Regions from separate parts of the Homo sapiens genome. Here regions 1, 3, 4 and 5 are each linked to region 2. The links are contacts of gene promoters, found by promoter capture Hi-C in blood cells and fetal thymus (Javierre and others, 2016). All regions are on one chromosome and are shown on one strand. The core of a region is centred on a gene start or on the middle of the fragment in contact, and the rest is flanking DNA. Distances in the headings are between cores, read along the strand shown. Region 1 has its middle 67 kb from the start of RPE65. Region 2 holds the start of GNG12-AS1 (GNG12, DIRAS3 and WLS antisense RNA 1). Region 3 has its middle 84 kb from the start of RPE65. Region 4 has its middle 32 kb from the start of RPE65. Region 5 has its middle 100 kb from the start of RPE65.

Region 1 (3,317 bases), core at 151-2,650, 550 kb before region 2:
AGAATGGGTACATTAGATGTATTCCAAACAGCCAGCTTGGGCATGAATACACTGCCCCATCAGCTTTCTGGGAACTGGCACAATAAAATCACTTCCTGAAGTTAGAAGGTAGAGAGAACTCCAACAAGGGTATAAATAGTGCACAGAGTAGTTCTGCTAAAACGACAGGATCCAGAGACACTCTCAGTCTTGGAAATCCTACCAACAAGGATTCAGGTACTTCCTTCTTTTATTAAAGACATTAGTGTTTTCCATTGCCTCCTGTAGTCTAAGTTGTGCTGTCATCCTGAGAGTGTTCCAAAGCCACACGGATACCCTACCTGATTCTCCAGACTCCTTTGGCTTCCTTAGTGTTAATGACCTTCTTCTCCTATCTCCCATTTCACATCACACATACTCCACGTCCATCCCAGTTTGCTATACTTCTATCATTACTTGGAATTATTCTATCTCCTAAATATTAAATTCAAACACTCCATTCACTAACTGCAACCTTTCTTCCAACATTCTCATTCAGTTACTCCCAGTCTATTATTTCTTCAGCCTCTTCAGGACTTCCAGATCCTCTCCTCTTTCTCCCAATATCAGCCCTTCTTTTCTGTAATTATTTTGCAATAATAGTTGTTACCATAAGGGCACTAACAAGTAAGTCATAGCAATTAACAACAATAGCAACTAACATTTATTGAGTTGTTCGTTTATGCCAGGCATTGAATTAAGCACTTATATCATTTAATTAATGCCTTACATCATTTAATTCCCAGGACTACTCTATGAACTAGGTTTTGAGGACCGTAGCCCAGCCTTCATGTTAAGCTTTGCTACATCTTGAACAATTTTACACTCCTCATCATTCTAATATAACTACTCATATGAAATGCTTAGTCATTATTCTAAAACCTAGACCAATGTGGTAAGGGTGGCACCACTGGCATAGTAAGAAATTGTACCTGAAATCTACACTAGTTAGACCAAGGAAATGGAGCTTAACTAAAGGCAGTTTTTGCAGCCTTATAAAGTAATTATACGAGCGGTTGGGAGTGACATAATTTGAGGTATTAAGAGACTTGGTAAGCTCCTGCTTATGGCCTCCTGCAACCTGCAACCTGAAAGGACCTCAACCTGGACAGGCAAAATGCCATCTCCACCAGCTGGGGCAGTGTTCTGTAAAGAACAGGAGAAAGTCAAGAAGCCACACTCACCTCATCTCCCTTGGATGAGGTATATGAGCATCCAATGCTAAGAATGCATCCTTTGCTCTTATAATATCCTTTGCTCTTATAAGCTTATACCAACTCATAAACAACATAAATTTATTTCTCATAGTCCTGAATTACAAAAAAAAATCACCCAACCCCCAGTGCTAACCTTAGTGTCCAGTGGCACTTATAAGGTGCTAAATGATTACTTGTTGAACTGTTTGTTTTATTGAGATTTCAACCCTTTGACAGTATATACTAATGAGGTATCCTTCTCACAGATTCTCCCAGAAGGATAAAGCAATAAGAAGCTTGAACCTAGAGCTATCCCTCTTTATTAAGGGCTTTTTAAAAATTGGAATTCTATCTGTACTATAAATTTCATTTTATTACTGACTCACAAGATTGTTCTATAAACCTCTGGCTAGACCGATTTTATATGATTTTGTAAAAATGTCATCTCTTCTATTTAAAGAATATAAATGCATAGAATTATACACATAGTGTTACATAGACACACACACTAGTTTTCTATTGTTGCATAACAAATTACCCCAAACTTACAACAGTAAATAATACAGATTATTAGCTATAGTTTCCATGGGTCAGGTATCCAGCATATTGTAGCTGGGCCCTCTGTTCAGGATCTCAAAGGTTGAATAAAATCAAGATGTCAGCTGAGCTATGTTCTCATCAGGAGACTCTGGGGAGGAATATTCTCCTGAGCTCATTCAGGTTGTTGGCAGAATTCAGTTCTTGTGGTTGTAGGACTAAAGTCTCCATTCTCTGCTAGCAACTGTTGCCCAGGAATCAATCTCAGCTCCTAGAGGTCACTCAAATTCATCAGTTTGTAGGTTCCTCCTTCTTCAAGCCATCAGTGACACATTGAATTTCTCTCAGGCTTTGAATCTCTGACTTTTGCTTCCCCAGTAAGCCAGAGAAAACTCTCTTGTTTTAAGGGCTCTATGTAATTAGGATAGGCCCACGTGGTTGACATCTTATTTTAAGGTCAACTGATTAGTCACCTTAATAGCATCTGTAAAATCACTTTTTCATGTAACATAACATAATAAGGGGGTGACAATAGAGGGCAGAGATTAAGGGGCTATTTAGAATACTGTCTTCCCCAAATTCCCATTAGAGTATCAACTCAAAATCAAAAATTCTCATCTAAATCTCAATGGCTCATATGCCCCCAATCCCATCACGTAAATCATGTAGAAATCAGGAGAGGATGGGGCTCTAGGGTAACCCATAATAACAGTCCCCAGGCACAATTCCTCTCTATCTGTGGACCTGTAAAACTAAAGAGACATGTTATGATCTTCCAGTACTCCAAACATACAATAGTGGGGCAAACATAGGATAATAGTTATACACATTGCAATTCGAAAAAGGCATAATATTTATATTTCACTGATGTCATGGCACTTTTAGGAAGAAATTGGTATTCCGCTGGGCACTGATACTGAAGATGTGCTCTGGGTCACCCCTACCTATTTCCTACCCACTCACCACTTCTCCCCACATGCCTGCCTTTTCCTTCTTTTCTCTGGCAGGATGAGGCGGGCAGGTCTGGGTATAGGAGTACCCAGGAGTTCCCAACTATGGGAACTATGGCTATGCTAACAGTGAGTATAGTGCCTGTGAGGAAGAAAATGAGACTCACTGAAAGTCTGAGAAGCAAAGTCACTGCTACAAAATCTCTTTCCATTGAAGTGGACCATGAAGCTAAAAATCAAAATAAATTATTAGCTGAAATGGACTCATGATTTGATTCTAAAGTGAGGTGATGCAAGTAACTGTGAGTTTGGAATTTGTTCCAATTAATGGCTTGAAGTACCATTTTGATAAAAATCAGCATCAAAACATTCTTAATTTTCAAATACTATGACCTTTTCCATTGAAGATTGCTGAACTTTGCTTATTTTATAAATTGCATTAGATAATACAGTGCTCGTTGTTTTAGTTTTATTTTACTTGTTTATTTTTGAGACAGGGTGTCACTCTGTCACCCCAGCTGGAGTGCAGTGGTGCTATCATGGCTCACTGCAGCCTTGACCTCCTGGACTTAGGTTATCCTCCCACCTCAGCTCTCTAAGTAGCTGAGACTACAGG
Region 2 (3,441 bases), core at 919-3,418:
GGTGAAACTCAATACACAGACATCCCTCACCAATGCTTTCAGACTCCATTTCAAGTGTGGACTCTGCCCACACTGGTTCTAAGTGACCTACTTTGGCCTCACCTCTTTTCTCTCCACCCTGTCAAACAAGAAAGCGGCTACCTAGGAATACTCTAGAAGTCCGCTGAGTGGTTTTCTGAACATCCAGCTTCTTTACTCTTTCTGGACTCCAAGAAGGCAAGCCCCTTGTCTGATTCATCTTTGTACCTCTCCCATCACCTTTAGCATCGCAGTTGGTACACAGCGGGTGCTTGGTAATGTCTGTCGAATGGCCAAAGGAATAGTACAAAATCTGTGGAAGCGGAAATGGCTCCTCCATTTACCCGACCTTGAACCCTTCCAGAAAAGACCAACCAAATCCCATTAATTCATTAGGCAGAACTCTGCCAGGTACTGGACATTCGGAAACAAATTTCAGGGGGTCGGGGCAGATGGACGGGAAGCTCATGGTGGGTGGATGTACTACAAATTCTATAATCCGCAGTTATACCTCCACTTTCTGGGAAACTTCTCTCCGTGGCCCCAGGGCCCTTTAAATGTTACTATGCGTGTTTTCCTCCATAGTTTCTGGAACAGAACCAAACTTTCGTGTAGGGGTTTGGCAGCGCTCATCCTCACAGCCCTGGGGACCGCTGGCACAGGGGCAAGCGAGGCGTTCGCACGCGAAGGAAACTTGCGAGGAGTCAGGGCGGCCCCGCGCGGGGGCGGGTCGTAGAGTGGGGGCCCTCAAGTCCTAGAACTTCAGGTCCTCCATGAGAATTAGAGGAAGGGGGATGGCCAAAGACGACCAGACGTCCACCGAGCTTCCACAGGCCAGGCCTCGCCCCTCCTCCTGCGGGGCCACAACGCGGGCTCCCCGGCCCGGGACAGCACAGCCAGGGCGTCCGGGCGGGAGGCAGGGCCCGGCGCGGAGGAAGGAGCCCGGGGCCGCCGCCGCCCCGCCCACCCCAGCGAGGCGGAGCCGGCGCCCGGAGGAGCAAGAGGAGGAGGAGGAGGAGAGGTCGGAGCCGTCTCCAGGAGCCCTTAGAGACCGAGTCCCGGCGGCGACGGCGGGGCAGCGCACCGGCAGGCGGGTGAGTACCAAGCGGCGGGCGCGGGTGGTGAGTCGGGTCCCCGCGGGGTCGGGGCGCGGCGCGGGGCGTCGGCCAGCGAGTTCGGGGGCCGCCTCCGAGTCCCGGGTGCTGGGAAGCGAGATGGAGGGAGGGAGCGGAGGAAGGAAGGAAGGAGGGAAGAGTGTCCTGCTGGAGGGCGGGGACTGGTCTGGGCGCTGGGCGCCGGAGACCGGGGGGAGGGGGAGGAAGGGGCCAAGGGACACCGAGACCCAGAGGCAGAAACGGCGCGCGCGCCCTCGACGGGCGGCCGCCCGAGGTTGCGGGAAGCCGCCCCCACGGCTGTGGCTGGGGCTAGGGCTGGGGGTGGAAGGAAAGGTCTCCCCTTGAGCTCGCTTGCCTCCTCGCCAGCCTGCGGCCGTGCGCCCCGCGCCGGGTTGGGAGGCCCCCAGTGTTCCCAGCCGTGGCTTGTGGTGGTGTCAGGCGTTGGAGGAGGGCTGGCATGTGGGGGCGACAGGGACGCCACGCCCCTCTGCCTACTTTCTACCTCCCGGGACCAGCCGGCGGGAGCGCAGCCTTGGAATCCGCTGGGCGCTGGGGGTCTAGCAGGGAAATAGCGGGTCGCAGAGGGGAGAGCCCATATGACGCACCCCGCGAGGGACCCCCGAGTGGGGACCCGAGGCTGCTTTTCTGCAGACTGTATTTGCAAGTGGTAAGGGGGAGGTTGAGGCTTAGTCTTGGGTGATTTTTTTTTTTTTAATTATTGCCCCGACAGTTATCCCGTGGGGCAGGGTGAATTCTGTTTTTCATTTTAATTAGGGCATATCAATTAAAGCTAACTTTAAAACGCTGTCACTTAGCACCTCCCGTCACTCACTCGTCCCTCGCTTTGTGTGTCCTGTAAACTTGGCTTAAATCATTCATAACTCACGATAAGGAAGCCGTGATTCTTGTTCACGTCGCCGCAGTGGAGTGAAACTTTGCCCAACTGGGACTGAGTGGAGGCATTGCTGCGGCCGGTCATCTGGTGGTCATCCTGCCGGGCGTGGTTGTATACAAACAAGTGGGTCGAGAAGGAAATCTCTGAACACCAGAGGTAGAAGGGAGGTTCCTGCGCCCACGTGTCAGGGCGCGTTTAATGGCTGCTCCCAGCGGAAACAAACGGGAATTTATTAGACCGTGTGGAGTTGGACAAACTTCACATGATTAGCTTCCTTCCCATCAGTTACTTCCTCTCCCCCCTGCTGTCTTTGCCGACACAGTTTATATTTCCTGGGGCGGTTGTAGCTTCGCCTGAATAGGCTGTGTATAATGAATCTTTTGGATGTCGTCAGAGGCAGGGTCTGCGTCTGTGCCTTCTCTATTTTAAAAGCGGAGTTTGGCTTTGTTTTTAAAAGTGCTAGTCACCAGACTGCACCCTTGCCAGCGCTTCGCAGCTCTCGAAGTAAATTATCGCAGGATGGCGGCCCTCACCTAGGAGAACCAGGAAGGCAGGCAGCGCTAGAACGACGGGATTGAATTTTACTATTGCCAAAACAATCACATTCAAGTAAGGAGCTGTTTTGTTTTGTTTTTGTTTTTTTAACCAAATTATATATACTAGCAAGCCCCTTTTCTAGTAAACTAACGTTATTCACACACACAATTTTTAAAGTAATCAAAAATTTTACAGAGTCTTAAGTGATAAAAGGACTTTCAGATAAAATGTTCAGTCCCTTTGCCTTCTCTAATAGTTAACCAGCGCCGTAAAGCCCTGGTTTAAGTCCAAAAAATGCTGAAAAGTCTACTGCGTCGTTAGACCTTATAAATAATGCAGTCCTATTTTTGCTGTATTTAACTCATGTAATTTACTAGATATCGAACCCCCAACAGGGCACACAGCACTTAGATTTGTGTAGAAATATATGAAAATGTGAATCTGTGTTTCACAAGAGCCTGAAAAAAATAGAATTATAAAAATTTCCTGTCCAGAAAGCTCCAGTCTTACTTGAAAGCTCTCTAACAATTAGATTTGTGGATTTGTGTTGTCACTTGTTAGAGAATATCGGTGGTTTATTAAAGTGTGAGAGCAAAGGGCTTCATGGTCAGAAAACTTGAGGAAGTGGTTAGCCAATATCAAATTAGTTTTTTTTAAAATTAGAATTATGTGATTTATTGTGTTTTGCTTTGTTTTGGAGTTTTATGTCAGCTTAAGCTTAACCTAGGAAGGCAAGTTGTGAAAGCAAGTAAATTTTTCTGAGCCCTAACTTGGAAGAGAAGCTTGTTTAACAGTGATTTGGGGTGTTGGCTTTGGAGTCAGACAGACTTAGATGAAAATATTAGCTATTTAACCTTTTTCAGTCTGATTTATAAG
Region 3 (3,230 bases), core at 143-2,642, 530 kb before region 2:
TTTGTTTTTTGAGACAGGGTCTCACTCTTTCATCCACAGCACTCAGGCTGGAGTGCTGTGGCACAATCACTGCAGCTTCAACCTCCCAAGCTCAAGTGATCGTCCCACCTCAGCCTCCAAGTTGCTGGGACTACGAAGGTGCGACCACCGTGCCTGGCTAATTTTTAATTTTTTGTAGAGATGGAGTTTCACCATGTTGCCAAGGCTGGTCTCAAACTCCTGGGCTCAAGCGATCTGCCTGGTTCCTCCTGCTAAAGTGCTGGGATTACAGGTATGAGCCACCACGCCGGCCCCCAATCACCTCTTAAAGGCACCATCTCTTAATACTGCCATGCTGGGGATTAAGTTTCAACATGACTTTCAGATCTCTACCTCAAAACATGACAATGAACTAGAAACTTTAAATGCTTGCAAGAAATTTTAGAAGAACTTCATGAGCTTAAAGTAAGGAAGAATTTTTCTTTCTTTCTTTCTTTCTTTTCTTTTTTCTTTTTCTTTTTTTCAGAGTCTCACTCTGTGGCCCTGGCTGAATGCAGTGGCACGATCTTGGTTCACTTCAACCTCCACCTCCTGGGTTCAAGCAATTCTCCTGCCTCAGCCTCCTGAGTAGCTGGGACTGCAGGTGTGAGCCACTACACCCGGCTAATTTTTGTATTTTTAGTAGAGATGGGGTTTCGCCATGTTGGGCAGGCTGGTCTTGAACTCCTGACCTCAAGTGATCTGCTGTCTTTAGACTCCTGAAGTGCTGGGATTACAGGTGTAAGCCACCTTGCTCGGCCCAAGGAAGAATTTCTTAATTAAAGATGTATACAATACGCTAAAGGATTAAAAATTTACACACTACACAAAAATTAAATTCTACTTATCAATGGTCAACATTTTAAAAAGAAATAGAACGGGAGGAAAACACAAGAATGCTGAGAAGCAGTAGTCTATGGCATCACAAGCGTCACAAGAGCAGCATGTTTGAAGAAAGAGGAGGTTGCCATCTGTGTTCAACGTGGCTGAGAGGTGGAGTAAGAAGACAGCAAAGTGTGCAGTGGATGTGGAGATGCAAGGCACACAGGCAAGCATAACAAGAGCAGCTTCAACAGAGTAGGAGGAAACCCAGGGCAGTGCCTGGACAGCTGCTCCTCTTTCTCCTCACCCTTCCAGAAAGTGCCACGCCTCCCACTGCCCTGGATGCCCCATCACTTGCATATTCATACCTACCCTAAAATACTTGAATGTAGCGGTAGGTTTCTTTTTGCTTGTATTCTGTAACGGAAAAAGTGGAATTATTACCTGTTTTTTTATTTAGCTGATTGCACAAGCTTTTGACAATTCTATCATTTTTCTGACATCTCTCCCTCTCTGAGAAGATGAGAAAGAGAAACCATAATAAAATTGCGTCAATCCCTATCGTTGAAACAGGTCTTTATTGTTTCTCATTAACCTGAGCTTTCTGGAGGGTCCAAGGATGAAAGCTTGAGGTGCAGCCAACCAGTGCTAAAATCCTAAACCTCACACTCTGTGTGTATGTGACACACTCATGCACACACACACACACACAAATGTGAAAGGCTCTCTTTCCCTTCCTCCTTTCCTTGTCTCTTGCAAGGTTGAACAGATTGGTCATTTTAACCCCATTATGACTTCAATAAAGAGAAGTCAGCCTAAAGAGGGGCAGGGAATGGGCACAGAAACCAGGTCCTGTGCTCCCCTAGGGAGCGGCTGTGTCTCAACTCATGAGATCTTGAAAATATTTCCCCCTTCCTAAAAATTATTCTCTTCCAGCAAAAATAGCTTCTAAACTATGGAAGCTCTGATGTGCACAAGGATTTCAAAATGTCCCTAATGAAGATTATAATTAAAATATTTAAATGGGTTTTTAATTTTCTTTCTGGGCTGTGTTATTTCCTAGTCCTCTTCAGGAGCTCCTATTGTTCAGTCATGACAGAATCCTCTGTCAGAAATTATAGCCTGCTGCCTTTCAGCATCTTCATTAAAATGCAGTGCTGCCAGATATATCTGCATGCATATGAATGAAGCATCTATAGAATAATTAAGTCATGAATAACACATTGCTGAGCATGGCTTTTCCTGAATAAAAAAAGAATGCTATTTATGAACCCAGAAATTTTATATTATATTAAAAAATAATTGGCAATAACAAGTATCATTTGAGGATTCATTAATTTAAATTATGATTTCCCTGCTATAAACTCCATTTTTAATAAAATGGCAATTTACATTGGAAAATGAATGTGAACCTATATGCAATTTTTCTTCATTTTGCTTAAAAGGCCACCCGAAAGCTTTTGGCAATGGGGGTTGCATAATTTGAAAATCTTTTAGGTCTATTATAAACAAAAGGCCATTAGCATCACAGCAAGTTAACAGGCCTGAGTTCAAACAAATAGTGACATATCAATGGAAAAACATAGACAGTATTTGTGATATTATAAAATATTTATTTTTGGCTGTGTCCATGGTTTCTAGCTCACAGCTCCTATAGCCTTTATAATTTCCTAAGTAACTAGAATGATAAGGATATTTTTTGTTAAACTATTTGGCCTTTTGTCTTCAGTTCCCAGAAACAGCTTCAGAGTAGCTCCAGAGTGATGAAGGTGAAACCAGCATTTCTGTTATTTATAACAAGCCCCTTTCAACCACACCTGAGACTATGTTAATGAGGTGATTTTTGGAAAATCCCTAGATAACTACAGGATGAAGGGTTGGTTGCCAAGGGGACTTACTGTGTGCTTAGAGGGTTGAGACTCACAGCCCCACACCCCATCTCACATCCAGAGAAGGAGAGAGGCTGAAGTTTAAGTTGATCACCAGTGGCCAACAATTTAATCAATCATGTCTACATAATGAAGCCTCCATAAAGTACCAGAAGAGCTGAGTTCAGGGAGCTTCCAAATTGGTGAACAAGAATACATTAACCTGCTGGAAGGGTGGCACCCTCCACCTCCACAGGGACAGAGGCTCCTGGGCTTGGGACATTTCCAAACCTTCTTTCTTTGGCTGTTCATTTGTATCCTTTCATGTATCCTTTATAATAAATGCATAAACAAAACTAAAGGGCTTCCCTGAGTTCTGTGAGCAGCTTTAGCAAATTAATCAAACCCAAAGGTAGAGAGGTTGTAGAAATCCCAATTTATAGCTGGCCAGTCAGAAATTCCAAAGGCCTGAATGGGCAACTCGCATCTGAAGTAGGGGGCAGTCATGGGACTGACTACTCG
Region 4 (3,640 bases), core at 89-2,588, 590 kb before region 2:
CGGGAGGGAGAGGCTGCAGTAAGCTGAGATCATGCCACTGCACTCCAGCCTGTGTGACAGAGTGAACTCCGTCTCAAAAAAAAAAAAAGAAAAGAAAAGAAAAAGAATTATGCTACAAGGTCTACTCATCTAGGAAGTCATCCTAAGTATCACCGATTGGCCAAAGGCTAACTAAATAGAGAAAATCAAGAGCACAAAATTAAATTTAAAAAATCTTCATTAACAGCAACAAGAACAAAACTGAAGAATGCAATAAACAAGGGTATGGGTTAGAGATAATGATTTCAAAAAGTCTCTATAAAAATAGAGGACTGTAGAAGGGAGGCCACTTAGGGGCCATTCCTGGAGTATACAATATATGATTAACTTAAGGTACAGTGTCATAAATAACTACGACAATTATAAAATCTGAAATAGACACTATTTACTGACCTCTTCCTATGTGCCATGCTAGGAGTTTTACATGGTTTTGCATGCTGAATTTTCCTACCAAGCTAGAAAGGTTGGTTTTATTATTTTTTTTATTTTACAGCCAAGAGAATCAAAGCTCAAGAGAGGCCAGATAACTTCCCAGTGATGAGATCAGGATTTGAAACTGTGTCTGTCTAGTTCTAAATCCTGGTTCCGGATCCTGTGGGGACTTCATTTTTCAGAGGGGAAAAAAACTAAAGCTTTAATATAACAGTGCTATCAGGATTTTTTAAAACTATTAGATAGGAACATATTTAATTCTTCCAGAGACTAAGTAACAAAGTGACTTCACCATTTTATTGCTGGAGTTAATAAAAAGAAACATGAAATAAAAGTATTAGCTCTGCTTTTGAAAACAAACCTATCAGGGACTTTTTCTGTAAGAACCTGTCAAACAAAATTAAACTGTGATTTCAAAGGGAATAGAAATGTCTGTTTTGCTTATTGTTTAACTCCCACTTCAGACACGAGCTGAGCACATTAAACCCACTCAAGAAATATAATATTCGTTGAAGGAGTGATTGCTAAAAGATTTCATTGATGCCAGGTCAAAAAGTATCAGAAGCACTTATTCTGCTGAACTTTTCAACAAAAAAATTACAGAAAGCCCATTTATTCACAAGACTCAAGCCTTTTTTGACAGCATTTAAAAATCTCCTTCCAAAGTGACATATCTGTGAGAGGTTTGTTCTGTGCTGACACTGTAGGGTGGTGTTCAGGAGAAACAGGATTGGGATGTTTCTGTAACTACACAAATTGACAAAGTGGCTCTCTTTAAGTGGCCTGGTATGTTAACTCACCATTATTTCCCACTATTCCAATCAGATATCTGCTAAAAGAAAAATACAAAGTCACCACGTAGTCTTATGCATTCTCTAATTCTGTTCTAACCATTACAGAGGTTTTTTTGCTTTGGGTCTTTTTTTTGGGACGGAGTCTCTCTCCGTTGCCCAGGCTGGAGTGAAGTGGCGCGACCTCGGCTCACTGCAAGCTCTGCCTCCCGGGTTCACACCATTCTCCTGCCTCAGCCTCCCGAGTAGCTGGCACTACAGGCGCCCACCACCACGCCCGGCTAATTTTTTGTATTTTCAGTAGAGGCGGGGTTTCACAGTGTTAGCCAGGATGGTCTCGATCTCCTGACCTCATGATCCGCCCGCCTCGGCCTCCCAAAGTGCTGGGATTACAGGCGTAAGCCACCACGCCTGGCCTAACCATTGCAAAGTTTTTTAAAGTTCTTCATGAGTCTTCACTCAAGAACATGACTGTGGAAATCTGCATCTTGCTTTTCTGTAAATGACAGAAAAGCAACAAAGAGAACAACAATAACAAAAACCCTGCATACTCCATTTGCAATAACATATATAATCTAAACACTTCAAAATAAGCATAGGGCTACGAAAGTAACTGAGAAAGGACAGAAGGAATAAGGGAAGAGGTTTAAAAAAACAAAAAGCAAACAGAGTAGAGAGAGATCCTGAGGTTAAAAATAATGAACTTTCATTACCATGGTTTACATGGCAAGTACAAAGCTTACAAAAATGGGTGCAAGAGGCAAGAAGAGCTGGTGGACTAAGTCTTCCTGGATTTATTTGGTAAAGACAACCTGAAACGATAGGGCTGCACAGAGATCCACACAGCTGAACCATATTTGCAGGAAGCAATTTGTGCCTAAAGGAGCAGCACAGAAGAGAGTCGTTAGGGTGTGAAGCTGGAATACAGCCCTGGTTCCCCATTAACCCTCCCCAAACACACAAAAATAAATCCCTGAAAATTGCTGATCCAGAAAAATCCAACTCAATAATTGATAGATAAATAAGTTTCCTACCACTGCCATAACGAATACCTTAAGTATTCGTGTGGCTTAAAATAACAAAAATTAATTGTCTCACAGTTCTGGAGCCTGGAAGTCTCAGATCAAGATGTTGGCAGGGCTGTGTTCCCTCTGAAACCTATGAAGGAATCCTTTCTTACCTTTCTTACTTTCTGGTGGCCCCAGCATGCTTTGGTTTATGGCAGCATACTTCCAATTCTCAATCTTTAGATGGCATTTCCCCTGCGAATCATCCCATCATCTTCCCTATGCATTTTTGTCTCTGTGCCCAAATTTCTCCATTTTTTAACTTTTATTTTAGGTTCGGGGTACATGTGACATGTGCAGGCTTTGTTATATAGGTAAACTAATGGCACAGGTCTTGTTTTACTGACTATTTCATCACCCAGGTACTCATCCTAGTACCCAATAGCTACTTTTTCTGCTCCTCTCCCTCCTCCCACCCTTCACTGTCAAGTAGGCCCTAGTGTCTCTTGTTCCCTTCTTTCTGTACATGAGTTCTCACCATTTAGCTCCCACTTACAAGTGGAAACAAGTGATATTGGTTTTCTGTTTCTGCATTAGTTTGCTAAGGATAATGGCTTCCAGCTCCATCCATGTTCCTGCAAAATACATGATCTCATTGTCTTTCTGGTTGCATAATATTTCATGGTGTATATGTACCACATTTTCTGTATCCATTCTGTCACTGATGGGTTTTTAGGTTGATTTCATGTCTTTGCTATTGTGAATAGTGCTGCAGTGAACACTCACATTCTTGTGTCTTTATGGTAGAATGACTTATATTCCTCTGGATATTTACTTAGTAATGGGATAAATTCCCCCTTTTAGTAAAGACATCAGTCATATTGGATCAGCATCCATCCTAATAACCTCAATTTAACTTGATTACTTTATAAATAACCTGTTTTCAAAGAACATAGCTTGCTGAACTACTGCGGGTTAGGGCTTCACTGTTTTTTTAAGAACTACCCATAACGATGAATAGTAAGAGGAAACTAGCACGACATTGATAAAAGACAAAAAAAGTGGAAAGTGCCGCAAAACTTTGCCGAGAAATAAAAAACTCACCACAAAAGGTGCACAGGAATAAATGACAATTAACAAGAAATGTGTGAGATATTTATGAAGTTGACTTTAAAACACTACTGAAACATAAGAAGAAATCAAAGGAAAGCTGGAGGACAGACTAATGGACAGAATCACGTTAATAAATCTGTGTATCAGAGACTTCATGTTAGAGGTGTATGATAATGACAACAATTATCAGCTTCCACTGCATCTTGGTGTAACTTCTGAACACTAAGATGTAAGTACAATTATGAAATTGGGACTTCT
Region 5 (3,442 bases), core at 375-2,874, 510 kb before region 2:
CCCCGGACCCTGAACTTAAGGCATTTTCAAAAAGAAGTTTATGGATGAGGGCTGGGCGCAGTGGCTCACACCTGTAATCCCAGCACTTTGGGAGGTTAAGGCAGGCGGATCACGAGGTCAGGAGTTCGAGACCAGCCTGGCCAACATGGTGAAATCCCGTCTCTACTAAAAATATATATATACAAAAATTAGCCGGGCGCAGTGGCAGGCACCTGTAATCCCAGTTACTCGGGAGGCTGAGGCAGGAGAAGTGCTTGAGCCCGAGAGCAGGAGGTTGCAGTGAGCCGAGACCACACCATTGCACTCCAGCCTGGGTGACAGAGCGAGACCCTGTCTAAAAAAAAAAAAAAAAAAAAAAAAAAAAAAAAAAAAAGAAAAAGAAAAAAAAAAGTTTATGGATGAAAGTGGAGGAGGATTACATATCCCAACAAAGAATCAGCTACCATTGCCACAAAAAGGATAAATGGATATTGGGCAGCAAAAACAACATAAAATTATCTCTTACAGCTGAACACAATTTCTGAGATTAACAACAGGCTCAATGTGGTGGACATTTAAGAAGATGAAATCCTCATTGATAAAGATGGGGTACTTGAAATGAGCTCCGAGCACTGGCAGAGGTCAAGACTATGGGCTACCAGTAACAACCTGCTTGACACAAAAACACAGACTGCATGGGGCAAAAGCAACATCAGACACATTCAAGAAAATCTGTTTTCTCATGAAGGTTCTCTGGAAAGTCCAACAGATGAATTGCTATAAAACAATCAGAATTGATTTTTTTTTTTTACTTATATTTCATTCACATTACATGATGTGGATTGAGTTAGTCTTAGTTTTTTCATTGTGTTACGGACTCCTCCAGGTATTAATAGAGATATGTAATGACTCTGGCATCTATATGCAGCCTTCTTTATCTCCTGGTGTTTTAGCCAGACCTATTTCTGCCTGAGAAGACTTAATGGTACACAAGAAACCTTTTGGGGGCTCTCGGTATGAATGAAAGTGAAAAATAAATTCCACTAGGGGGTGCTAAGCCTCAAAATAAAAACACAAAACAAGTATCTTTGATTTTCCCATACCTTTCAACAATCATTGAACAACTGTCTTAATCTGGATTCTCCAGAAAGCAGTGCCTGAGACAAAGTTTACGTGCTACTACTTTATTATAGGATGCAATCCCAGGAAGCAAGAGTGAGGGAAAAGGAGAGTGAGGCAGGGGAAATGTAAGAGCTGATACAAGAATACATATTACTGAGCTGGTCATCTCTTGGTATTAAAAACTACTGATTCCTTGATCTTACAGTGCCTTTCACCAACAGGCCATGTAAAAAACTGCTTCATAGAACAGTCCATCCAGACTGGCTCAGTCTTCACCCAGGAAGATATAAATTCCTCTCATATGATTAAGTTGCACATATATTGACACTAAGCATGTCCTTGAGGTCTCACACCTCAGTCTCTACAGAACAGAAGGTGAAACATATGCAGAGAGGACATAAGGCAAAGAGATGTCAGGTTGTTCTCCGGTGGAACTGATCCCACTTCATGCACAGCAGGTTGCTCCACAGCTGGGGCTGGAACAAGAGGCCAAAGACCTCAAAGATAGGTGAGAAGCACCCAAAAGGTGTTTAATACAATAAGAAATGCTCCAAATATATAATGCACAATTAAGAGGGAAGCAAAAGCCTTGCCAAAGATATCATGCCATGAAAACAGCAGTTGGAGGATGTTTGTGCTTTGACTCTAAACATTAATTATCACTTCTCATTTAACAAGACAACTAGTTGTAGGTTTCTTTTGTATTTCCTAGTTGAAAATAGATTGCTTCAGACTTGCTAGTCATCTTAGAAATTAGATTTCTTCTTTTTTTCTAAATTAATTTTGTTTACCTTTGCCAAATCAACGACATATTATAATTGGCTGAATAAACAGTGTTGTTTGTTTTAAAGAATTAGGATTTTTGTTTTTCAAGCTGATTCATTTTGAAATACTTATAACTTTTCCTGCAATATTAGAAACAGGGCCGGGTGTGGTGATTCACGCCTGTAATCCCAGCACTTTGGGAGGCCAAGGTGGGTGGATCACTTGAGGTCAGGAAGTTCAAGACCAACCTGGCCAACATGGTGAAACCCCGTCTCTACTAAAAATAAAAAAATTAGCCAGGTGTGGTTGTGGGTGCCTGTAATCCCAGCTACTCAGGAGGCTGAGTCAGGAGAATTGCTTAAACCCAGGAGGCCAAAGTTGCAGTGAGCCAGGATGGCGCCACTGAACTCCAGCCTGGGCAACAGAGTGAGACTCTGTCTCAAAAATAAATAAATAAATAAATATTTTAAAATAAATTAATTAAATTAAGTGCTTTCAAAAGTCAAAACAATACAAAAAAAGTAGACACAAAAGTGTCACATCCTTCTATATTCCCTCTACCTCATTCATCTCCACCCCCAACAATCCCTTGTAGATAACCAGGTTTATTGTTTTATGATTTATACATTCTGTTTCTTCATGTAAATATAGGCAAATATATGTATATTTCATTTTCCCTTCTGCCTTACATGGAACGTAACATACTCTAAATGCAGCTTTTAGAAAATTCCTAATAAGCATATTCCCATATATTTTATCTTTTAGAAAAACAACCCTTTACATAATAAGATTTGATCCTTATAAGAATTACTGTATTTCCTTTCTTCTGAATCGTCACACTCTTTTTTCTGAATCCTTCTTTTCTACCTTTAAGTATATTCAGATCTCTTTCATCAGGAAAACGTAAAAACTAAGTAAGGGCAAAATATTTAGTGGAATATTTTCAAAATTCCATTTATAAAACACTGGTTCCCTAAAACATCAACAGCTGTTCAGAATTGTTTTCCACAATGCAATGCATATCTGCAAACTGAAAGTCCAGAGAAGTACAATAATAGACTGCGTTAATTTAATTAAATATTTCCCCAGCATATTTAATCATGGAATCATTTTTCTGCCAAATACCTGTTAACATCCCATGGAATGAGGAAGTACTCCTGGGAACATTACTCGTCACTCATTTGAATCAGGTCTTTTTAGACTACCAGTCATTCCTTATTGCTAAATGCAGTAGGCTTTCTAGAGGTCTTACTCTCTTTGCCTTGCTCCCAGTATTACAATATCTGGTCAAAATGGATTATTCCGTTTCCCCAATCGCTCTCACACTTTTCCTCATGCAGTTAACTCTTCCTGGGTGCCTTTTATTATAAGATCACTAACCTTTTGAAATCCTAACAGTCCTTCAATGTCTGTCGATGCCACTTCTTCCATGTTGGCTTTTAACTTTTTTTTTTTTTTTAGATGGAGTCTCGCTCTGTCAGCCAGGCTGGAGTGCAGTAGCATGATCTCAGCTCACTCCCTGCAACCTCTACTTCCCGGGTTCAAGCGATTCTTCTGTCTCAGCCTCCCTTGTAGC

The links. The method cuts DNA at HindIII sites, captures the fragments that hold promoters and counts their contacts. A CHiCAGO score of 5 or more calls a contact.
Region 1: a contact is called between a fragment that was not itself captured here and the fragment with the promoter of GNG12-AS1 in region 2, in 2 of 17 cell types (endothelial precursors and M2 macrophages). The highest score is 6.5, in endothelial precursors.
Region 3: a fragment that was not itself captured here is called in contact with the fragment with the promoter of GNG12-AS1 in region 2 in 2 of 17 cell types (M0 macrophages and megakaryocytes); the score reaches 5.7 in M0 macrophages.
Region 4: a fragment that was not itself captured here is called in contact with the fragment with the promoter of GNG12-AS1 in region 2 in 1 of 17 cell types (M0 macrophages); the score reaches 6.3 in M0 macrophages.
Region 5: a contact is called between a fragment that was not itself captured here and the fragment with the promoter of GNG12-AS1 in region 2, in 1 of 17 cell types (endothelial precursors). The highest score is 8.2, in endothelial precursors.

Annotation. Positions count from the first base shown.
Region 1 is chr1:68,381,101-68,384,417 of GRCh38, reverse strand. No RefSeq gene overlaps it. Among named protein-coding and RNA genes, the nearest start is that of RPE65, 67 kb to the left of the region's middle. RefSeq lists an enhancer at 1-358. The HindIII fragment of the contact is 225 bases long and covers 1,288-1,512 here.
Region 2 is chr1:67,831,015-67,834,455 of GRCh38, reverse strand. GNG12-AS1 (GNG12, DIRAS3 and WLS antisense RNA 1) reads right to left here and starts at 2,168. Exons shown (of 10, transcript NR_040077.1): 1 at 2,020-2,168. GNG12 (G protein subunit gamma 12) reads left to right here and starts at 989. Exons shown (of 4, transcript NM_018841.6): 1 at 989-1,112. The HindIII fragment of the contact is 10,966 bases long and covers 1-3,284 here.
Region 3 is chr1:68,364,639-68,367,868 of GRCh38, reverse strand. No RefSeq gene overlaps it. Among named protein-coding and RNA genes, the nearest start is that of RPE65, 84 kb to the left of the region's middle. The HindIII fragment of the contact is 153 bases long and covers 1,316-1,468 here.
Region 4 is chr1:68,416,164-68,419,803 of GRCh38, reverse strand. No RefSeq gene overlaps it. Among named protein-coding and RNA genes, the nearest start is that of RPE65, 32 kb to the left of the region's middle. The HindIII fragment of the contact is 1,329 bases long and covers 674-2,002 here.
Region 5 is chr1:68,343,973-68,347,414 of GRCh38, reverse strand. No RefSeq gene overlaps it. Among named protein-coding and RNA genes, the nearest start is that of RPE65, 100 kb to the left of the region's middle. The HindIII fragment of the contact is 5,529 bases long and covers 1-3,442 here.